Regions from separate parts of the Homo sapiens genome. Here region 1 is linked to region 2. The links are contacts of gene promoters, found by promoter capture Hi-C in blood cells and fetal thymus (Javierre and others, 2016). All regions are on one chromosome and are shown on one strand. Each heading gives the region's core, a stretch centred on a gene start or on the middle of the fragment in contact. The rest is flanking DNA. Distances are from core to core; before and after follow the strand shown. Region 1 overlaps LOC124904518 (a long non-coding RNA gene). Region 2 holds the start of TAF1A (TATA-box binding protein associated factor, RNA polymerase I subunit A).

Region 1 (4,585 bases), core at 1,080-3,579, 490 kb after region 2:
TTCACTGATGTCATGCAGGGTGGAAGTGTATAGTGGGGACAGTGTTCTTTAGTCACGTCTTTCTCTGCTGTATGAATGGTCAAGTTTTCCCTCTAGGTAGTCAAGCCACCCAGCTAGCTGGGTGGTTCACCTCAAATAGCAACACCAGCTCATCGGACAGCTCCCTCAAAAAGCAGTCTGACTGGCAAGTTCTTAAGTTGACTTCTGAGTTTTCTTTTTCCACAATTGAAATTATAATTGCTTTTTGCATTTCCTCATAGAGCTCATCTCTTTTCCTGAAAGAAAAATGCATTCATTAACAAAGGCAGGAGGATCCTGGCATATTCAGTATCAGCAACAGAGAGAGTAGTATGTGATGAGGTCAGTGAGGAAGGGCCAAGGAGATCAGGTGGGAGCCGGTGGCCACTGCAAGGATGTTGGCTTTCGTCTGAGTGAGATGGAGCAACAATGCAGGGTTTAGATCAGAGGAGTGACATGATTTGAGCTGGGATTTAAACAAATTTTGGAAAATAGGGACCACGTCTTAGTCACTTTTGTAATGCTAGTGTCAGAAAATTCTTTGGAACCTGAGAAATGCTTAACAAACTTGAGCAGAGTTGCAGTACATTACTAAAGACAAGCAAAAAAAAAAAAAAAAAAAAAAAAAAGCACTGTCCCAGGTCATTGATAAGAGCACTAGTTGTGTTTGAGGTAGAAGATAAAAAGATTCGTTTGGGGAATATTGTATTTATTATTTTAAAGTCTTAATATTTACATTCTGTCCAGGACTTCAATGCCCACATGCCAATAGCTCATCCCTCAAAGGGTATCTGTCATATTGATAAAACCTCCTACAGCTCAAGAGTCTCTGTGTCTACCTTGCACCTCTACCTGGCCAGGACTGATTGGCTTTCAACAATTTAGTTTCCAATCTTCAGGTTTTGAGAAATGTGAAGCACATTCAGATGTGAATTGTATTGATAATCCAGGCCATTATTATTATAATCCCTAGGAAATCATGAAGCCAAAAGAGCTTTTTCATTCAGCAACAAAAAAGCTTTTATCCTCTATCCCCAGCTGACATACTTTCATAGAGGACTTGTCTTTGATCTGCCCTCTTTGTTTTTTGTTTGTTTGAGATGGGTTTGTTTCTTCATTCGTCAAGGCTGTGAGCTCACTAAAGACAAACTTCAGGAAGGAAAGCAAATGAAGTTCTGATTGTGAATTCCTGGTCTCTTATGGCAATTCCGGAACTGCCCCTTTTCAAAAGGATCCTAAGTACTTTGGTGGGAGCCTAGGTAGAGTTTGCAAGAGGGGCAGCCTGTTTTAGGGCTGTAGCTTGGATTTTCAGGTTTAAACATTAAAGTTTCTGCCTTGTCTTTGCTATGCATAAGCTGATGACCTGGGCAAGGCAACTCATCTCTTAGCACAAAGGGAGGCAGAAGAAGCATTCACTGAATTCCATTTATGGGCTCACACTAGGCCAGGTGCTAATGATGCATGATAGTCTAACCCTTATAACAACACTATGAATTGAATATATCTCCTTCTTACAGGAAAGGCAACAGAGGCTCAAAGAGCTTCAATAAGTGGCTCAAAGACATATGGCTGATGAGTGTTAAAACTAGAATCAGCATGTTTCCAAAGACCACACACTTGCCCTGCCTCCTTCTGAACCTGGGCTTATTCATCTCTAAGATGAGTTCCTTAGTTTTCCTTCAAGGTCTTTCCAGCTTCAAAAATTTGTGATTGAGTGAGGTTGGATTCTAACAGCACAGGAATTCATTATATAGGGCTGGAACTCAGTTGGGTTCATAGCAACCCTCCTCCTTCTTCTAGCTAAGACTTTCCATTCATAAAGGTTGGTTCCCACCTCCAACGTGACACCCCAGTCTCACTCCTCATCACTCTTCTTTGCACTGCACTAGAAATTCTTGCTTTCATCTCCCAAACTTGCTCATTTGCCTCTTCTCCTTCTGCAGAAACCTCTTTCTCTTTTTCTCCTCACATAGTTTTTCCCTCCTCCAACATAGCTCTCTGAAAAACTTACCTTCTCTTTTTCCAGGCATATCTTATTTCTATCTGAAAGGTTTCCTGGTTAAATAAACAATTCGAATGGCTTTGGAAAAGTCACTTCACTCGGCATTTAGTTCTCATTTGTGAAGTGAGACTGCTGTATTACATGGTCTCTGTAGGCTCTTCCAGTGCCAAAATTCTCATTACAAATAAATCTCGAATCTCTTTCTTTCCCTAGCAGCTGTGGGCTTTGTTTCTACATTAGGTCAATGTGCAGTCTCTACCATACTTCTTTGTTTTTATTCCTGGGTTTTTGCCACATGCAGCATTTAGGTGGTTCTAACTGAACTGTAAACTCTTGAAAAGAGGGGACCTTGTGACTTCCTTCTTCCTAACCCCTCCACTCCTATCTCTGGTCCACAAGACTAATCCACAAACTCAGGGGTTATTCAAATAATGCCATCAACTGTTGGACAGATGACAGATGGCAAGTGCCATCCACAGCCTTGTTTTTCTGGTGTCCCTGTCATATTGTCGACATTCAGCTTTTTCAAAAATATCTTTAGTTACTCATTAGTCTGAGAATTAGGCCTTAGCTGTTGGCTATTCTATGAATGGCTCTTTCGGTACAAACTAACTGAATCTGTGTCTATGCCCTTAATTGGAAAGATAAATTTAAATGGAACTGTCTCCTTGTGATGTCCTCTGAATTTCAGAAATGAAATTTGGGTCCTCTCAGTCTGATGGAATGCATAACACTTCCAGAGTTATCAGGAACCTGTCAGAATCATTATGGTTAGATATAAGTGTTTTTCTAAATGCTGCTATCCATGGAGTCTGATGTTTGAATTGCAGTGGTGGAAGACAGTATTTATGCAGTCATTCATTCAAACATCATTTTATTGAGCACTGACTATGTGTCAGACACTGGGGTAAAAGGATAAGTAAAACTTGGTTCTTGCCCTTAAGAGGTATTTGGCCAAAAAGGAAAGGGGTACTAAAACAGTTACTATAATGCACAGAGATACACTGTTATAAAGTATATAAGAGTATAAACAGACAGGGAGAGTCTCCAGGGATGATAGGAATCGAATCAAGTTGAGCAGTCAGTCTGGTCAGTCTGTTTTACAGCCTCCTGCCCTGCAGCCTGTGTGGAATGCAGTCACCTTGTTGGTTTAAACCAGGTCCTGACTGATCCTGGCAACTTCTAGATGAACTCGAGTGAACTTTCCTCATTACTATGCCAAAGTCTCCACCCTGGGAGGAGCTATACCTGCATTACCATGACATGCAACCCATATGCTGGCATGATGACTCATCATGTCTGTGCAACTGGGACCCCTCCTCTACCTGCCATGATGCACCCTTCTCCATTGCCGCATAAAACCCTCCTGTCCCCTTCTCTCCGGGAGACACTGCTTTGGAGAACACTCCCAGTATCCTCCTTACTTGCACCAAGTAATAAAACTCTTATTGATCAAAACCTGTGTTCTCGTGGAGTTACTCACCAGCTGAACAAATCCTGTTTTATTGAGGGTAACAGAGGTCCTGAAGAGGTAGGAATTGGATATAACCAGAGGCATCACAGACGATGCCACAGAGTATGTGAATTTAGGGCTAAGCTTTAGTAAGATCTGGCAGCAAAAGGCAGAGGGCATTTCAGGGAGAGAAACACCCAAAGGCACAGGGTAAGTATGGAGAATGAGGGCATGGGTGAAGGGACTGGCGAAAATCAGATTAAAAGGTAAGCAGGGGCCAGATAGTGAAAGGCTTTAAATGCCCTACAGAGGAAGCTCTATGCCAGTGGCTCTCCTGCTGTAGTGGGCTGAAGGCTTATAAAGGGACTTGGCTGAACATGTAGATTTCTGGGACCTACTGATTTGATTCAGCTGGCTTGAAGTGGAGCTTAGAAATCTGCATTGTAAGCCAGCCTCCTGGATGATTCAGATGTAGGCAGTCTGCTGGTAATCTTGTGCAGATATTGTTGTCAGCAGTGGAAAATACAAAGAGTGACATACAGCCTCATACTGGGCTTAGAAAGACAAGTCTAGCAGGTGAGTATGGCAGCTGAGTTGAGGGAGAAAGGCTCATCGTGATGTGGTCAGTTAGCATTTCACTGTGACGGTTCACACGAGAAACGCCCAATGCCTCAACTGTGGCAGTAGGCAGTGGTAATGCAGAGACAGAGGTGAGAACTCTTGCAGAGGGAGAATCCTCAGAATTCAGCAAATGAATGAAAGTTGAGGGGAGAGAGAGAGGGGAGAATCACAAGTACATTTAGTAGTTCTCACAGGAGTAATTAGGGTCTAGTGTCATTAATGCAAAGTAAAATATGTTTGAGTGAGAAGATAAAAAGGTTGGGTTGGGGCATATTGAGACTTCAGTGTCAGTGGAAGCTACAACTAGAGATTTAATTCAGGTCTTCTCCAGGTTTGCTTTTGGGGAATATGAATATATGTAGGGGATAGTTGAAGCCATGGGATTCTATGAGACAAAGTGATAACTTTGGGATAGAGACCAGAGAAAGTCAAAGACAGCGCCTGAGGCACCTCTGCCTTTAAGGGAAGAGAAGATGGGGCGGGACCTAGAA
Region 2 (4,464 bases), core at 246-2,745:
ATCTGAAAGCTCTTCCTCATTTTCGGGAGAACATAAACTTTTTTCCATGTAAAATCATTTCTGGGCTGGTTTTGGTGAATTTACACCTCAAGCCAATGGGAGAAAAGTAGCCAGACTAAGCCTCTAGACAAGAAAGTAATGATTATGTATGTTATTTTGTGTGTGGTCTCCTGGACTACGCATAATTTATGTTAGCCCTGCCTGTAGAGTTAGAGCACAAGCTTGAGTGAGGACTCAAGAACTAATGACAGAGAGAGCAGCAGAAGGAACTTTTCTTGCAAGTCCTTAACTACTGCATATTGTTTTATGCAGAAGACAACATAGAATCAACTATTTGTAGCATTTTAAGGAATCCATGTACAAAATTTTTTTTGACAGGGTCTCATTCTGTCGCCCAGGCTGGAGTGCAGTAGGGTGATCACAGCTCACTGCAGCCTCGACCTCCCTGGGCTCAGGTGATCCTCCCACCTCATCCTCCCGAGTAGCTGGGACTAGAGGCATGCATCATCACCCCAGCTTATTTTTTTTTATTTTTATTTTGTAGGGACGGGGTTTCATCATGTTGACTAGGCTGGTTTCGAACTCCTGAGCTCAAACTTTCCGCCTGCCTCGGCCTCCCAAAGGGCTGGGATTACAGGCATGAGCCACCGCGCCCGGCCTCAAACTCTTACCAGACCCTTTAATTTCCTCTCCGATACTCCGATTCTACTCAAACTGTTCACCTACACAGAGGAAACTCAGTGATTCCTGGGGGAGCCTATGCTATATTTGTGCATCCTCATTTGTGGACAAAATTCTTTCTTGCTGTGACTTGAAAGCAGCCTCCCTTTACCTTTCACTTATTAGTCCTAGTTCTGTTCTCTGCTGCTAAGAAAAAGGGTCTGATCCTTCTTTCACTGATCAGCCCTCCAAATATTGGAGAAGCACACTGCGTTTCCATGGGCCTGCAGTCCTTTTCCGGGATCATCTTCCCTAGAACCCCTCAACTGTCTCTCATTTCACACGGTTTAACCATCTTACCTTTAACCCATATTTCATTTGTTTGTCTCAATGTCCCTCATGAAAGTTGACCCAGACGGGTCCGCAGAACAACTTTTGCTGAGAAGGCAAAGGAAATTCTCGCCCAAATTGTGGAGAAGGCAGTCGAACCAATTAAACCTAAAGCTAAAACTGTAATAGAAAAGAACTTTCAAGCTCGCAATGAAAAGGCTATGCATGGATTTATCTCATCACAGCCACTAGCCACACCTCCACTCGTGCAGTGCGCCTGCGAGCCGAGCAGAAACCAATGGCCCATCGTAGTGAATTTCTCGGGTAAAGTGACATTCTCCGCTTTTGAATGCTCCCTTCGCCCAGCCGCCAACCCCTCGCCCCAATTTCCATTTTAAATGAAAGTCTCCCACTTTCTAGCTGAGACAGACAAAAATAAAACTCGGGCAAAACCAATCGCAGAGAGGCAGCTCACTGTCACTTCCTGGGTCACTTCCAGAAGTCACTTCCGGGGTCGAGGCGAGGCCAACGATACGCCTGCTGCAGCAGGAGGAGTTACGAGCCGGGCCGCGCGCTGCCTAAATACCTAAACCAGGTTTAGCGCCTGCTCATATAAAGCTCTCCTAACTCGTCTTCCGGTGGGAATTTCTTCACGTGGGCCGGAGTCGGAGACTGAGTTTAGCTTTACTGAGGAGCTCTAAATTTAGGCGGGTAAGTGCCGCAGATATCGCCCGTGGTTCCTGCGTTTAAATGGAACGGGAAGGGGTGTGTCAGGATTCATCCATGTTCTCCTGATATTTCCTCCTAATACCTGAAACCCTTGGGGTCTGAAAACGAAAGAAGGGGATAGAGAAGCTTTGGTTGCCGTGGCAACTGCGGGTCACCAATTTGGGTTTTTGAGGATTTGGAAAGGGAGGATTTGTGTAACTACTCCTGAAAACACGTGATGGGTCGGATTCAAATTCAGTTGTTACTTATAATTCATACTCCTAGCCACATGCTTTGAATTTAGAAGGTTTACTCTGGGTATAATGCAGAGATGCAAAATCTGAGCCAGGGTAATTGTTTAGAAAGCTGATGCGGTAATCTAGGCACTGTTTGAAGGGGTCTTGAACTAGAGTAGTGCTGTAGGATTGAAGAGGGGAAATAGGGGAAATTTGGAGGTAGTATCAGGGGCACTAATACTCGATTTCATATGGGTAATGAGGAAGGGGCCCTGAGCATCTTTAGGAGTAAGTCTAAACTCACCTTGGCTTATGATGATTTTTCTAGGTTCGTTTCTCACCTTCCGCACCCCTCCTCCACACGCACCTCGAATTCTAGTCATGCCAAGTAGTTTGGTGTTCTATTTCCTAGACTATCGTCCTCACCATTTTTTGTGATGTTAGGCAGGTTCCATCATTTCACTAAGCCCCTCAGTTTTTTCAACCTTCACATGGAAGAAAGTAATAGTACCCACCTCAGGATTGCTGTGGGGATTAAATTAGATAATTTATACTTCTAGTGCATAGTAAGGGCCTAATAAATATTAGCTGCTACTTCTATTCTTACTGTACTTTTCATATTGTTTTGTTATTATACGTTTTGCTGTTTCTTCGTCTAGACTTGAGATTTTTTAAATTAGAGGGGCAGTATCTTATTTATCTTTACATGGACTTGAAACATTAGTGGTTCGGTCTTTAATGGATCATTCATTTTGGCTGTTGCTGACATAGTTAAATTCATTTTTTACTTTAAAAGAGCTGACAGGTATAATGCATTTTGCTAATCAAATTATATTTATTAGATAAAAAGATAGCCGTTTTTCTGTACAACTCAGAAGACTGTGGATTAAGATGTACAGAAAGTAACTGATATCTCATCTTGTAATAGGTATGAGTGATTTCAGTGAAGAATTAAAAGGGCCTGTGACAGATGATGAAGAAGTGGAAACATCTGTGCTCAGTGGTGCAGGAATGCATTTTCCTTGGCTTCAAACATACGTAGAAACTGTGGGTAAGTAAAATAATAACATTGAGCCATTTTAACTTTAAGGAGGTGGTAAGATTCAATAGGGATACAAAATGAATAACCAGACTGGTTTAATTTTCAAGAGGAATATGTGGAGGGTTTTTTGGCTAAAAGCCAAAAGAAATCTTTTTTCTTTTAGAATTCTTTGCCCTTGGATTAATAATAGATAGTCTGTATTATGCTAGATACACATTTTTTCCAGTAATACTTACTGAGCACTTTTATCTCTGGCATTGATTAAATATTGGGGAGTCATAGGTGAAGATATGGTCTCTGCCATTGAGGAAAACATGCCTAGGAAGTGTTCAAGAAGTTGCTGTTGAATTGCATTGAAATTATTTCGAATAGAATTGATCGTGTAATAGATTTTTTTTTTTTTTGAGACAGAGTCTTGCTCTGTTGCCCACGCTGGAGTGCAGTGGCTAGATCTTGGCTCACTGCAACCTCTGTCTCCCAGGTTCAAGTGATTCTACTCAGCCTCCCGAGTAACTGAGATTACAGGTACCAGCCACCACGCCTGGCTAGTTTTTGTATTTTTAATAGAGACAGGGTTTCACCATGTTGGGCAGGCTGTTCTTGAACTCTTGACCTCAAGTGACCTGCCCACCTCAGCCTCCCAAAGTGGTGGGATTACAGGCATGAGCCACTGCACCCGGCCTAGATAAAAGAGCATTTTCCCCCATTTTTATCTAATGTAAATGCAAGCATGATTTTCTATGGGATAAAATTTCCCCCATTTTTATCTAATATAAATGCAAGTATGTTTTTCTATGGGATAAATTCCCTATAAGAATATATTTAATATAAGTATAAATAAAAGAAGCTATTATCTGTATGCTGGCATATTGAGTGGTATAGTCCTGGGATTACATTTGAACCAGCATTTTACTTACTGCCCTTAAATATGTGTTTTTTTGCCCAGCCTTTTCTCCCCTTGACAGAGATTCCTTGGCTCCTAAAATTTCGCTTCCATTTTTTTCTTTTGATCTAAGTATCATCCCATTTAATGATCTCAGTAAATTCTCAATAAATTTTTATGCTAGGCAGTTTAGGTAGGATGAAACTGAATCTCAAAGACATTAAACTCTTAAGTGGTATCAGGAGTCAAATCCAGGTTTGTCTGATCTCAAAGCTTACACTTTTAACGACTGAGATGCATTTTTAAAAATGAGACAATATATGTAAAGTACCTAGCATAGTATCTCATGCATAATGAGTGTTGAAAAATAATAGTGCCTTTCCTCTCCTCATTTTATTTTTGCTAGATTAATGCACATGGCTTAAGGCAGATTTGAATGAATGATACTTCAGAGGTAGTGCTACCGCATCCCTGGTAGGGAACAAACTAGTAATTTAAATTTCCTATAGTTAAGTCATACTTGGGTATGTTTCTGTTACCAGTGTTCTATAGAAAGTCTGAGTCAGTCTGCAAGCAGATAGGTTTAAGACCAAAGACCAAAATTT

What was found. Contacts are between HindIII fragments. The CHiCAGO score rates a contact against its expected background, and 5 or more counts as called.
Region 1: a contact is called between a fragment that was not itself captured here and the fragment with the promoter of TAF1A in region 2, in 1 of 17 cell types (non-activated CD4 T cells). The highest score is 5.2, in non-activated CD4 T cells.

What each region holds. Positions count from the first base shown.
Region 1 is chr1:222,096,461-222,101,045 of GRCh38, reverse strand. The region is part of intron 1 of LOC124904518 (a long non-coding RNA gene); the gene reads left to right. Among named protein-coding and RNA genes, the nearest start is that of LINC01705, 39 kb to the right of the region's middle. RefSeq lists a silencer at 2,072-2,272. The HindIII fragment of the contact is 2,581 bases long and covers 1,039-3,619 here.
Region 2 is chr1:222,586,964-222,591,427 of GRCh38, reverse strand. TAF1A (TATA-box binding protein associated factor, RNA polymerase I subunit A) reads left to right here and starts at 1,495. Exons shown (of 11, transcript NM_005681.4): 1 at 1,495-1,701; 2 at 2,863-2,985. The coding sequence starts at 2,865. TAF1A-AS1 (TAF1A antisense RNA 1) reads right to left here and starts at 1,508. Exons shown (of 3, transcript NR_110613.1): 1 at 1,466-1,508; 2 at 1,021-1,170. RefSeq lists enhancers at 462-994, 995-1,528. The HindIII fragment of the contact is 1,624 bases long and covers 224-1,847 here.